Regions from separate parts of the Homo sapiens genome. Here region 2 is linked to region 1. Evidence: promoter capture Hi-C in human tissues and cell types (Jung and others, 2019). All regions are on one chromosome and are shown on one strand. The core of a region is centred on a gene start or on the middle of the fragment in contact, and the rest is flanking DNA. Distances in the headings are between cores, read along the strand shown.

What was found. Contacts are between HindIII fragments. The study calls those that stand out against the background at their distance.
Region 2: a contact is called between a fragment that was not itself captured here and the fragment with the promoter of ZNF843 in region 1, in 1 of the 25 tissues and cell types used here (spleen).

The regions. Positions count from the first base shown.
Region 1 is chr16:31,440,993-31,445,124 of GRCh38, forward strand. ZNF843 (zinc finger protein 843) reads right to left here and starts at 1,797. Exons shown (of 2, transcript NM_001136509.3): 1 at 1,644-1,797. RefSeq lists an enhancer at 1,424-2,219 and a silencer at 1,604-1,813. The HindIII fragment of the contact is 16,324 bases long and covers 1-4,132 here.
Region 2 is chr16:31,264,848-31,269,059 of GRCh38, forward strand. ITGAM (integrin subunit alpha M) reads left to right here. Exons shown (of 30, transcript NM_000632.4): 3 at 548-651; 4 at 964-1,034; 5 at 1,183-1,300. Among named protein-coding and RNA genes, the nearest start is that of ITGAM, 7.0 kb to the left of the region's middle. RefSeq lists enhancers at 207-1,406, 521-1,000. The HindIII fragment of the contact is 5,038 bases long and covers 181-4,212 here.

The DNA of each region.
Region 1 (4,132 bases), core at 547-3,046:
TGCCCAGGCTTTCCTAATCTCTTCCCTAGATGAGTGTGTTTTCCAGTTGGCCTTTTGTGATTTGATTCCCCTCTCTTCCAATGGATGATCTGACACAAGGGCTGTCAAGCATGCTTGTTACTGTAGGGCAGTGCTTACTGTTTTCACAGCATGGAACCCACAGAAAATGTTACAATATGAGTAACTCACAGGGATAAAGGGTTGAGATTGCTCCCTACTGAAGGTGCCCGGCCCAGTGCTTCGGGCCACCCTAGGCCCTACCTACCTTCCTCAGGGGTTAAAGCAGTGGTTCTCAGTGCTAGCTGCACATTAGGATTACCTGGGAGCTTTCAAAATTATTTTGCCTGTGCTGCACCCAGGAGTAACAACATACAGCCAAGGTTAAGAACCTTTTTAGCTAAATGGTTATCTGTTTATCCTCAGTTACCGCCACAGCTTATCCTTCTACTACAGTGCCTCCTGAGTAATGGGCACACCGTACAGTATTATTATTGATTATTATTAGTATTAGAGACAGGCTCTCCCTCTATCATCCAGGCTGGAGTGCAGTGGCACCATCATGGCTCACTGCAGCCTCGACCTCCTGGGCTCAAGCGGTCCTCCCTCAGCCTCCTGAGTAGCTGGGATCACAGGTGTGCACCACCACACCTGGCTAATTTTTTTTTTTTAAATAATTAGTGTAGACAGGATCTCATTGTTGCCTACGCTACTCTCCAACTCTTGGGCTCAAGCGATCCTCCCGCCTTGGCTTCCCGAAGTGCTGGGATTACAGACGTGAGCCGCAGCGCCCGGCAGAATACAGAAGTAATAAACTAAGGTCAAGGCCATGTACTGAGGTGTTCAAGGCTCTGAACTGCTGGACTCAATGTCACAAGATAAATTTTAACCTCACCAAACCCTCTCAGCTTAAGAGTATCTGCTAAGTTCTGAGAAAGCAAACGGGGCGTGTGAAAAGATGGGTGTTCATGCCTGTGTGTATGTGGGGTCGGTGATGCAGTTAAGGACAGAACCCAGGGGAGGACTCCGGGACGGGGGAGGCGGCTGAGATTTTAAGGCGGGCCGGGTGTGCTGCAGCCAGCACTGCCGGAGAATCGCTGGGAAACGGCTCCAGCAGGAGAATGGAGGGTGGACGGCCGGCCGCAAAGGCGGTGGAGGTGTTGGCCCGCCCCTTCCCTCCTGATAACACCGACGTGCGTGTGGGGTCCACGGAACGCCCCACCAAGCCTCGCCTGGCGCGGGGTCGAGGGGCTCGGCGGAGGCGCGTGTTCAGGTGGAGGCGGTGGGCCCGGGCTGCGGCCCTTCGCTCGATTTTATTTATTTATTTATTTATTTATTTATTTATTTTTGAGACGGAGTCTCGCTGTGTTCCCCAGGCTGGAGTGCAGTGGCGAGATCTCGGCTCATTGCAACCCCTGCCTCCCGGGTTCAAGCGATTCTCCTGCCTCAGCCTCCCGAGTAGCTGGGACCACAGGCGTCCGCCACCACGCCCGGCTAATTTTTGCATTTTTAGTAGAGAAGGGATTTCACTATATTGGCCACGCTGGTCTCGAACTCCTGACCTCGTGATCCGCCCGCCTCGGCCTCCCAAAGTGCTGGGATTACGGGCGTGAGCCACCGCGCCCGGCCCCTTCGCTCGCTCTTACCCGGTGAGGTCCCGTGCCCGCGTACCTCCCGCATGACACTTGGGCGTGCGGCCGAGCCGGGAGCGCCCCTGCCCCGCGAGCCGCCCCCGAGAGACACGGCGGATCGGAACCCAGCCGGGCGCGTAGCTCCGGGAAGGGGACGTGGCGAGGACCCGGCAGCCGCGGGGCCTGTGGGGAAACATGGTCCCCGCAAGGGACCCTGGGAGCTGGAGGCGTCCTGGCCCGGCGTCCGGAGCCCACGGCCCAGGACTAGGATGCCGGGGGTCTCGGGCGTCCTCCCTAACCTCAGTCATAGGGCGCTCCGTATCCAGCCCGCCCTGCTTGCCTCTCGCTTCCCCCAAATACTGCCCCGACCTGTCCCCTGGCCCTCACCAAGACAGGGAGAAACGACCGAGACACTGAGGACTCCGCTAACAGCTGCCTGAGACCCAACCCCTCCACTCCCTGACCAGGATGAGGGAGTCCGCGCCATGCGCATGCACACACGCGGGCCTCTCCTCCTCCCACCTTTTGCGCGTCTCGCCCGGGCATCGAAGGAAGGGAATGACGGCGCGACGGCGACCCCTAGGGGCGGGAGGAGGCGCTAGGAGCGGGGCTGGGAAGCGCCATGGTGCAGGTTGAACGGGGACATTGGGTCACCGGGATGGGTGGAATTAGGGTAGGGCGAGTGAGGCACTGGCTTCTGGCACAGAATTTAAGGAGACACCCCAAAATTTAGTAATCAGGATACACAGACTGAGCGCAGTGGCTCACGCCTGTAATCCCAACACTTTGGGAGGCCAAGGCGGGAGGACTGCTTGAGGCCAGGAGTTAGGGATCAGCCTGGGCAACAAAGCGAGACCCCCATCTCTACAAAAAAAAATTAAAATTTAGCCGGACTTGGTGGTGGGCGCCTGTGGTCCCAGCTACTCAGGATGCTTAAGTGGGAGGATCACTTGAGCCCAGGAGGTTGAAGGTGCAGTGAGCTATGGTGACACCTCTGCACTCCAGCCTGGGCAACAGAGCAAGACCATGTCTCTTAAAAAAAAAAAAAAAAAAAAAAAAAGCTAGACGCGGTGGCTCACGCCTGTAATCCCAGCACTTTGGGAGGGCAAGGGTAGTGGATCAGTTGAGGTCAGGAGTTCGAGACCAGCCTGGCCAACATGGTGAAACTAAAAATACAAAAATTATTCTACTAAAAATACAAAAATTAGCCGGGTATGGTGGTGCACACCTGTAATCCCAGCTACTTAGGAGACTGAGGCAGGAGAATCGCTTGAACCCAGGAGGCAGAGGTTGCAGTGTTGCAGAGGTTGCAGATCATGCCACTGCACTCCAGCCTGGGTGAAAGAGTGAAACCCTGTCTCAAAACAACAACAACAACAACAACAACAACAACAACAACAACAACCACCACCACCCAAAGTATATTATATGCACACCCTACTGAGTTTGATTCCTGGTTCCACCAGTTAATAGCTGTGGGAGTTTGGGCAGTTTGGTGAATCTAATCTCTGTATCTCAATTTCTTCATCTGTAACATGGCAATAATAACAGCACCTACTTACCTCATAAGGTTGCTGGGAAGATTCAAGGAGATAAGCCAAGTGAAGAGCTTAGCACAATGTCTGGCACATGGTGAGTGTTCAGTGAATGTTAGTCAGTTGGTGGCTATGGCAGCCATCTGCTGAGATAGTTCCCAGTGATCCTACTCCTGGTGTTCACACCCTTTTTAGTCCCTTCCCACAATGCACCAGGGTTGGTCTATGTGACCTGTGGAATACTATAGGAGTTTCTTTCTTTCTCTCTTTCTCTCATTCTCTTTCTTTCTTTCCTCTCTCTTTCTTTCTTTTTTTGACAGAGTCTTGCTCTATCACCCAGGCTGGAGTGCAGTGGCACGATCTCGGCTCACTGCAACCTCTGCCTCCTGGGTTCAAGTGATTCTCGTGCCTCAGCCTCCCAAGTAGCTGGGATTACACACACGGCCACCACACCTGGCTAAATTTTGTATTTTTAATAGAGATGGGGTTTTGCCATGTTGGCCAGGCTGGTCTCGAACTCCTGACCTTAGGTGATCCACCCACCTCAGCCTCCCAAAGTGCTGGGATTACATGCATGAGCCACCGTACCTGGCAAGAATTACTTATAATTAGGTTATAAAAGTCATGACAGTGAAAACCTCCCAACTTATTCTGAGGCCAGTATTACCCTACTATCAAAATCAGACAAAGACATCACAAGAAAACTAGAGACTAATATCTCTTATGAATATAGACATAAAAATCCTCAAGAAAATACCGGCAAATAAAATTCAGAAATATATAAAAAGGATAACCAGGTGGGATTTATCCCAGGAATGTACGGTTAGCTTAACTTATGAAAATAAATTAATACACTACATCAATACAATAAAGGAAAACATTATTATTTCAATTGGTGTAAAAACAGCATTTGACAAAATTCAGCACCCTTCATCATAAAAATACTCAGCAAACTAGGAATAGAAGGAA
Region 2 (4,212 bases), core at 1,450-3,949, 180 kb before region 1:
ACCTATTTTTATTTTTAAAATTTATTCATTTATTTTTTGGGACAGAGTCTTGCCCTGTCTCTCAGGCTGGAGTGCAGTGGTGCTATCTCGGCTCACTGCAACCTCTGCCTCCTGGGTTCAAGCAATTCTCTTGCCTCAGCCTCCCATTTAGCTGGGATTACAGGTACGCACCACCACGTGTGGCTAATTTTTTGTATTTTTAGTAGAGGCGGGGTTTCACCATGTTGCCCAGGCTGATCTTGAACTCCTGAGCTCAGGCAATCCACCCCCTTGGCCTCCCAAAGTGCTAGGATTACAAGCATGAGCCACCGCGCCTGGTCCTATTTTTAAATGACTTCTGGTTTTTGTGTCATTCTTAGGAAGACCTTTTCTCATTCTGAGTCTTAACATTTTCCCATTTTTTTCTTTGCTAATTCTTCCTCCTAGTCATAGGAATTTAGGAATCCGGGTATGGGCCCCCACCGTCCTCTGGGTGGCAGAACTTCCTCTGTGGTCTCCTTCTCTCCCCACATGTCGAAGTTTTCTCTGTTCCCACTTCTCCCCACAGGGTGGTGGTTGGAGCCCCCCAGGAGATAGTGGCTGCCAACCAAAGGGGCAGCCTCTACCAGTGCGACTACAGCACAGGCTCATGCGAGCCCATCCGCCTGCAGGGTGAGTCACTGCCCCGCCGGGCTGGGACTGGGATTCCCCTGTGAACACATAGGGACTTTCCAGGCACTCCTGTGTCCTGGGGATCTGTGGTGGGGACACAGGTGCCTGCCTCCGTACCCTCTCCTCTGCCTGCAGTCTCTACCCTAGACATCCCCAGGCAACCCCTCTGTGTTCCTTTCTTTCCCAAGATTTAGGATCCCCCTTCACCGTCAGACCTCCTTGTCTCCCGCATGGAGGTGACCCCTGCCCAGCTCTTCCACAGCCTTCTCTGTCCCCCCACCAGGGTGACCATGCCCATATCTGTCCCCGCAGTCCCCGTGGAGGCCGTGAACATGTCCCTGGGCCTGTCCCTGGCAGCCACCACCAGCCCCCCTCAGCTGCTGGTGAGTGGGGCTCGATCAGAGGAGCATCCTAATGGGGGTGTTTGGGGGCCCACGCATGGTGGGGCTGGGGGTCTTGTGGAGGGTGGAGGTGCTGGGGTACAAGGACAGGAAGCAGGGGCAGCCCCTTCCACTGGCTCCTGTCCCCTAGGCCTGTGGTCCCACCGTGCACCAGACTTGCAGTGAGAACACGTATGTGAAAGGGCTCTGCTTCCTGTTTGGATCCAACCTACGGCAGCAGCCCCAGAAGTTCCCAGAGGCCCTCCGAGGTGGGTTGCCTTTGGCAGAGGGAACAGATGCGCAGCAAAAGACCAGGGGAGGGGGCAGGACTGAGGTGACGTCTGCTCAAGGTCTGGGCTCTGGGTGCAGAAGAGTGGGGGAACTGGGTCCCATTAGAGTCAGAAGCTAGGGAGGTGCTAGGGTCTTGTACTTTAGGAAAACGCCTTGGCTAGGCACAGTGGCTCATACCTGCAATCCCAAAGCTTTGGGAGCCCAGGAGCTTGAGATCAGCCTGGGCAATGTAGTGAGATCCTGTCTCTAAAAAAAAAAAAAAAAAAAATTAGCTGAGTGTGGTGATGAGCACCTGTAGTCTTAGCTATTTGGAGGCCAAGGTGGGAAGATTGCTTGAGGCCACAAGTTCAAGGCAAGCCTGGGCAACATAGGGAGATCCCCGTCTCTACAAAAAAAAAAAAAAATTAGCCAGGCGTGGTGGCACACACCTGCAGTCCCAGCTACTCAGGAGGATCACTTGAGCCTGGGAAGTTGAAGCTGCAGCAAGTTATGATTGCACCACTGTACTCCAACCTGGGTGACAGAGCAAGACCCTGTCTTTAAAAAATAAGTCCAGGTCACACTGCAGAGGAGGGGATGGTGCAAGGTGTCATTGGCAAGAGGTGGGAATCTTGGGGACCATCCTGGGGGGCGGCCTTCCACACCCCTGTTCCCCAAACCTCTGTTGATTGAGATTCTGAGTGACTGTATGGATTTTTTTTTTTTTTTTTTTTTTTGAGGCAGAGTCTCGCTCTGTCACCCAGGCTGGAGTGCAGTGGCACGATCTTGGCTTACTGCAACCTCTGCCTCCCAGGTTCAAGCGATTCTCCTGCCCCATCTTCCCAAGTAGCTGGGATTACAGGTGCCCGCCACCACACCCGGCTAATTTTTGTATTTTTAGCAGAGACGGGGTTTCACCATGTTGGCCAGGCTGGTCTCGAACTCCTGAGCTCTGGTGATCTGCCCACCTTGGCTTCCCAAAGTGCTGGGAATGAGCCAGGGAATGAGTGGGGGGCATGAGCCACCATGCCTGGCCAGAGTGCGTGGATCTTTCAAGCTGCTTTTTCCCACTGCTTTGTTCGATGGCTATGCCATCTTTTTGCTTGTCTTCATGTTGATTCTGGGACCACAGGCGAATGTTTCTCCCTTGCATTTTTTTTCTTTCTCAAGCCCTGTTCCTCTATATTTCACCCTCCACAGTTAATCCTCCTTCCTCCACAGAGAAAACAAAAGCTTCAGGCATGGACTCCCTCCACTTTCCCCTTCTCTTATTTTATCTTAATAAGCGGTTTTCCAGTCTTCACTGGAATTTGTTGACAAATTCTAAAGGAGCTGTAACACCGCACTTTCTCCTTTTTCTCAAATTTCCATAATGACAGCACTCCTGGCAGTGACTCACTCGTTTTAGAGGAAGACCTGTCTCTCCTCTGTCCCATGACTAAATTCTTCCATATGGGCTTTTGAGAGTCTCTCATGCACCAACTAAGGTGATCACCTATCTTTCTTTTTTCTTTTTTTTTTGGAGACAGGGTCTTGCTCTGTCACCTAAGCTGGAGTGCAGTGGCACAATCTCGGCTCACTGCAGCCTCTGCCTCCTGTGCTCAAGAAATTCTTGTGCCTCCGCCTCCAGAGTAGCTGGGATCACAGGTGCGCATATACTGATTTTTGTATTTTTTGTAGAGATGGGGTTTCACCTTGTTGCCCAGGCTGGTCTCGAATTCCTGGGCTCAAGAGATCTTCCCACCTCAGCCTCCCACAGTGCTGGGATCACAGGTGTGAGCCACTGCGCCTGGCCCAGCATCTCTTGAATCACTTGTTTTCTCTCTAGGACAATTAACTTCCCCCTTCCTCTGGCTGTAAACACTCTTCATTCTATCTGTATCTGAAAAGCAATCAACCACCACAATCGATAGCCATGAAAACAATCTTCTCTCTTCCAGTCTCCTCCTCATCTCCTGCCATCTCTCCTCACCCTCACCACCCAAGCTTCCTGAGTGCATTCTCTTCACCCCCGGCTGGCCTCCAGCTTCCCTCTCCACCTAGGGGCACTGGGTTCTGGGTTCTCTTTTCACCCACGTGTTCTTCTTTCCTGAAATCACCCAGTTCTGTGGCTTCAGCTAACACTTCTACCTCTCCCTCTTTAGACCTCACTCTCAGGGTTCAAGACTACTTCTTTAAAAAAGTTTTCATTTATTAAAAAATATATAATACATACACTTGGTTCAAAATTCGAAAGGGTGCGGTAGCTCACACCTGTAATTCCAGCACTTTGGGAGGTCAAGGCAGGAGGATTGTTTGAGGCCAGGAGTTTGGGACCAGCCTAGACAACATAATGAGACCCCATCTCTACAAAAAATGCAATTAGCCAGGCATGGTGGCGTGTGCCTGTGGTCTTAGCTATTCAGGAGGCCTCCCAAAGTGCTGGGGTTACAGGCATGAGCCACTGTGCCCTGCCAGTCTTTCTAAAATACAAAACAAATCATCTCACTTCCTTTTCTAAGAACCTTCTGTGGCTCCCCATTGCCTACAGATAAAGTCGAGCTCCTTATTGGAGTAGAAAGGCCCTTGCCCGCTGCTCTTTGCTTGATGCCACCGCTGTGTCTCCATCGCCGTCACATACGTTTGTCCCTGTAGTGCTGTTTCCATCAAACGGCATTCCTGGATTCTGCCAGAATCCTTTTGAGGCCCTTGTCCCATATATCAGTAGGAGTCTCAACTGGGACCAAAAGCACATTCCAGTAATGTAACTGCCCAAGGGGTTCACCTTGCTTGCTGCCTAGACAGAGCCGATTCATCAAGACAGCAGAATTGCGATAGAGAAAGAATAATTCACACAGAGCCAGCTATGCAGGGGACCAGAGTTTTATTATCACTCGAATCAGTCTCCTCGAGCATTTGGGGGCAGAGTTTT